2 separate regions of the Homo sapiens genome follow, and region 2 is linked to region 1. Evidence: promoter capture Hi-C in 16 types of primary human blood cells and fetal thymus (Javierre and others, 2016). All regions are on one chromosome and are shown on one strand. Each heading gives the region's core, a stretch centred on a gene start or on the middle of the fragment in contact. The rest is flanking DNA. Distances are from core to core; before and after follow the strand shown.

What was found. Contacts are between HindIII fragments. The CHiCAGO score rates a contact against its expected background, and 5 or more counts as called.
Region 2: a contact is called between the fragment with the promoter of ADAMTS6 here and a fragment that was not itself captured in region 1, in 1 of 17 cell types (fetal thymus). The highest score is 7.1, in fetal thymus.

The regions. Positions count from the first base shown.
Region 1 is chr5:62,412,191-62,414,934 of GRCh38, forward strand. It overlaps IPO11 (importin 11), which reads left to right and starts at 573. Exons shown (of 30, transcript NM_016338.5): 1 at 573-739. RefSeq lists an enhancer at 494-683 and a silencer at 1,014-1,063. The HindIII fragment of the contact is 2,111 bases long and covers 299-2,409 here.
Region 2 is chr5:65,480,547-65,483,290 of GRCh38, forward strand. ADAMTS6 (ADAM metallopeptidase with thrombospondin type 1 motif 6) reads right to left here and starts at 1,374. Exons shown (of 25, transcript NM_197941.4): 1 at 797-1,374. RefSeq lists enhancers at 1,127-1,486, 1,254-1,753, 1,527-1,576. The HindIII fragment of the contact is 619 bases long and covers 1,183-1,801 here.

The DNA of each region.
Region 1 (2,744 bases), core at 104-2,603:
GGACTACAGGCGCGCGCCACTGCGCCTGAGTAAGTTCTCTTTTTAAGGATAAGAAAATTTAGGTGACTATGCTAGCTTTTAGCAGAGGCAAGCAGAACTGGATTTATGTCCTTTTACATTTTTCCACTCTTGCTATTACTCAGGAGTAAGCGCCAAGCAATTTGGGTAACTTAAAAAATAAATATTTGCGGGAGGGAGGGTGGACTGATGGGAGTAAGATTCTTTAAATAACTCTTCTCTGCTGTGACGGATCCGCTATTGATATCTAGAATATAAAGCGTGAAATGGTTCTGATTGAAGCTTCAATCAACGCAGGAAACAATTGAGCTCCCTGGGAGTCGGAGAAACCAGACCTATGGTTTCCATGGTGACAGATCCGGCTAGTCCGGACTCCTGGCTCTTTATACTGCGCAAGCGCACTGCGCAAGCGCACACAACTGATTTGGATACCCCGCGCCTTTTGGTTCAAAGACAAAGCCCCTCCTTCCCCTTCCCGCCGTTCGCCTATCGCCTTCTCTCTCTGCCGGTCGCATGCGCGCTGGTCTCCTGTGACGTAGTTTTCGCGCGTCCGCGTCGTTTGGAGCTGCGACGCCAAACATGGCGTGTTCCTAGAAGCCGCTTTCGGCATCAGTAGGCGGCGGCGTGGGGTCTGGCAGCGTGGGGAGAGGGACCAACCGACGCCACTTCGTGTTGGGAAGTGGGAGCGGGAGGGCCGGGCAATTCCCGACCGAACCAAACGGTGAGGCCCCGGCCCGAGAGCCACCGAGCGCGCGGGAGTGGAAGGGAGTGGGTTGGGCACCCGAGTCCCGAGAGGCGGGAGGAAAGTGGGGCTACCAGGAGATGAGGGATAACGGTAGCGAGGCAAGGGCGGCCTGCAGACTTGGCTGTTTGCGCAACCTTAGGAACCCGGGGAACTGGGGGCTGGCCGAGGCAGCCCGGGAGTGGGCAGCATGGTAGTGGAGCAATCAGGGTGCGGGGTGGGAGGGACCGTATGCTAGGCTGAGCAGAGGCGAGTGTACCCATCGTGACCGCGGTTGCGGACCTGGGTGATGCATTTGCCCTTGGGGGATAGGTGGTGCAAATTTTGAGATAAAGTGGTTATCTCGAGTATAAGACCGTTGTGCATTGTTACTGCGCACGCGACCTTGTTGCTAATAGCAATAGTGTGATAGCTTTAAACATTAGACCCTTACATGCTTTTAATGAAAAAGTGAAGGTAGTTGTCCGTTTATAGAGAGGAGCTTCATGGAGAGGTATGGCCGCCAATTCTCAAGCTCAGCGACTCCTGTAGATTTATATTTGGGGGTATTTGTGATTCAGCAAAACTACTTTTGCTTATTACGTGTGTCATTTTTTCTTTATTATTTTGTGACATGTTGGTGAATGAGAGAAGTACTATCTGAAAGTGATTTGACTAAATAGCAAGGACTGGTAAATTACCTACTAGTGCCAAGGTTGCAGTTGACATACCTCCTCCCCTCCATAATTTAAACGAGCTCAGTTGTAGCGCGGTAGTGCCCTTCAGATTTCGGTTATTCTTCAGAAGGAAGAATAGTTTGTAGCCATAATGCTTTTCCCCCTCCTGGGATAGGAATTTTCTTCCTCCATTTTCATGTTATTTCAAACTTCTCTGTTCAGTAGAGGAGCTTCAGATTAAGGGCAGGGTGACTCTTCTATAGGAGACATCCATTGCATGACACATATTACATCTTTCATCACTGAGGAAAATTTCGGTGAAAGTAGAAACATTTTCCCTTTTGGTTATGATGGGACTGGTATTTTCTCTGTTTCTGCAGTAACCTAGCACAGGGTATAGTAGAAACAATTAATTATAGTAGTGGCTTGTGGCCATATATTATAGTCTCAGGGTAGGAGGGTGGTCTCCGCCCTAGTTGAACTTCTAAGGCCAAAGAGAATTTTCACCACAAACACATTTGGCTGTGGTAATGTTAGAGGTTTTAAACAAATATGTAAAGATTATCTGATCATTAATAGAACAATTTTTAGATTTTGTGATGTTTGAATATATTTGCATTTGGAATCAAACCAGAATGCAGCATGATCCTTGTAGGCATGTGGCTATTAAAATACACTGAAGATTTTTCCAGAAACAAAATTTTTTTTTCTCAGCAATAAAAATATTCAAATTTTGGGTAAGGTAATGTTTGATTATTTGGATTTTGACCTTTGTGTTATATATTTGTACCTGTGTGTGTGTATGTATGTAACCTCACTTCTAATTTAGTGTTATTGATGGTAATATTTTTTCCTTTCTTTATCAGCTTCAAATAGGGACTGTTAATTTCAGAGCGTTTAAGGAATGGCAAAACACATTTAGTGCTGGTGTGAGTCTGTAGTGTGTTTGGTTTGCTGACTATCAGACTTATTACAGATAAGTCCACAGTTATAAGCTTTGTAGAGCTTAAGTTGCATCAGTGTTCTTTACCCTTGCTACTCAAATTGTGGTATATAGCATCACCTGGGAGTTTATTAGAAATGCATGATCTCAGGCTCAATCCAGAGCTGCTGAATCAAAATCTGCAATTTTAACAAGTTATCTAGATGAAAGGAATGTTCAATAAATCTTGAGATGCACTACTTTGGTTGGTAACAGTTGAAGAACACTGAGGTAATGCACAAACCGGTATAAAAATTTATAGCATCATTTATTTTAATCTGAGGTGATCTTATGCTGATTATCCAGTCTGATGAAACTGAGGCCCAGAAAGGTAAGTGCCTTGCAT
Region 2 (2,744 bases), core at 124-2,623, 3.1 Mb after region 1:
GCTTTCTCAATCTCTCGCTCACTTTTCCTCTAGTACAGGGAAAGAAAGCATCAAAGACAGGAATTGTAGCACATATTATCAGAAAGAGGCTTCCCAATACCCCATTCCTGCACTCTCACTCTCCCTCCTCAATCCCTGAACTTTGGTCCCATACACCATATATACAGACCTACCCCGATAAACAAGGCTCCGGAGGGTTATGAGTCTAGCACGTCCCAAGTGGCCAAAAGTAAATCAAAAACACACGTTTCCATCTCTTTGATTAGCCTATTAAGAGCTTAACATGTCCTAGAGCATCGGGGCTACAGCTAGCACATTAATGCTACCCTCTGAGCCCAGGCATAAAATATGCACTTGTCTGAAGACTTAACGACACTGACATGAAACTACAAAATGCATAAGACTTTTCTGTAAGAAAACTGGAAATCAATTTAAAACACACACATCATTATTACCTTCCGGATTACTATTTGGTGATCAGTTAAAAGATTACAATAATCATAATCAAGTCCACTTCACAAAACATGTATTGTATATTCATAAAATAAACGTATTTTTTTTGCATCATAAAATAACTGCAAGTCCCAGAATTCTACAACCCCCGACAAGTCTGGAGTTAAAAAGATATCTATTTGTAAAATGAGTTCAGTCAAGCTCACTCATTGCCATTAAAAAAAAAAAAAAAAACACACACACAGAAAAAAAGTTTTCTAAGCGTTATTCGGAAGACAAGCAAAGCACAAGTTGTTGGTTTAAAAAAAAAAAGCTCCATTGAATATTGTTAAGTCTTCCTTACCGTTTTCATCTTCAAATTCTGATAAAAAGTAAGTTTCAGACAATAGAGATTGCACTGGACGACTCACGTACTCCCTCTCCTCTCTAACTTTTTTTAATTTTTTTTATTTTTTTATTTTTTGCCCCCCTTTGCAAAGCCACACCAGCCAGTTATTCTGCAGCCAGAATAAAACCCTATGGTCTGGCTAACCCGGGCTTTAGAGAACTGACTTTCCGATTTGGCAGAATAAGAGATGCCTTCAATACATCTAGGCTATCACTCTGAGATGCTGCCTTTGCAAACCCCCTTTCTCTCCCTCCCCACCCCCCAAAAAAGGAAAGGAAAAGAAAGAAAAGACGGGAAAAAAGACTTATTGGGGGTGGAAGTGGTGCCCTCTCTTCCTGGAAAGCTTAGTGCCTTTGCTATGCAAATAACATGTGCAGAGCATCAAAAGGTATCAGGAGAAAAGAAGACAAGAGGAGCAGGAAGGGCAGCAAAGTTTTGTTGAAGTAGCCCTAGATCTCACTACCGGCCCCCAGCCAACTTGAATTGCAGCAGGAGAAAATTTTGGCAGCTTTTCCTCGGAGGCAGAGCACACTGACGTCAGTCTGCAGATGTGCCTGGGCTGCGTCGGGTGCGCATGTGTCCTGGGTCGTCACGTGGAGGGGGAGGGGAGGTAGAGGTACAATCGGGGTAACCAACTACCAGCCATTCAGAAGGGCTTAGACAATGTCAACTTTTCCACACTGTGAATGAGAGAAATTCTGGCCTCTCTAACCTCTCTGTCCTATCTCATTCCGCCTCTTTTCCTCCTCCTCCTCTAAACTCTCTTAGAAATTCTAGCCTGGTTTGCTATTAGTTGTTTCTTGGAAAAATGAAGGGGGAGGGAGAAGGATGAATGACTTTAGATGGACTAATGTCACTGTTAAGATCTCTGGTGTCATTCTCCGTGTAATTTTATTTTTAAAATCCACACAATCAAAATGTTAAAACTTGCACGCAAACAGTGCCTCTGAGGAAACTTAAAGCTTAGATTCGTGCAGCAGGCACAAGACTCAGTAGCTACAAGTGTACAAAATGCCTGTGTTTTATACATACTTCAGCAAGTAAGGTTAGCACCAAAAGGGAAAGTAAACTAAAGTAAACTAATACCAGCACATTTTCCATTTGATTATCGACTTCAGGTTATGTGGAGCTTTAAAAGAAGAAGAAGAAGAAAAAAAAAAAGTAGGGGAGGAGGGAGCGGGGGAAGGAAGAGAGAAGCTTGCATTATTTCCAGATGAGGGTGAGACTGGATGGTGTTTTAAAGTGCAACCGGGAAAAGCCACAAGTGGAGTGTATTTTTTTAAGTCAGTCCATTGAATGAAACTTCAATGACTGCCCAAATGAAAATAAATCCGAAGTAGGACCCCACCACCAAAAAAAAAAAGGAAGGGAAAAAAACAGGAACCCTGCTGCGATCTCAAGATAAACAAACAAAACCTCAAAACTGGTTCTTCAACCTTCCCAATCCCACCCTCCCTCCCCCCTACACACAAGCTGCCAGTCCAGACTTTAAGGATAAAATACCGCTACAATGTAGCACTTTCACTTTCATTTGCTGAGAATGAAAGCCGCTGGGGAGAAAATGCCCAGTGTTTTCCATGTCCTAAGCAAGCAAACAAAGTCTGGCACATACATCGGAAACAGGAAAAAATGTGAAAATAGCTCAGGACAAATGTTGCCTTTCAACGGTGTAATCTGCTGCATCATTTATCTGTCTCTACCATTGAGTGTAGAATAGGGAGCTGTTTAAGAGTTTCCGAGGTTGGGGGCAGGGGAAAATTGACGCCTTGAAATTCCAGCCCTTAGTTAATGCCAAGTCAATTTCCGATGGTGAGAACCAGAAAGGAGAACTGGACCGGAGGGAAGGGGGTAGGAAGGATGATCTTTCTGAATACCAGCTCTTAAATATCAAGCTTCTGCTAAC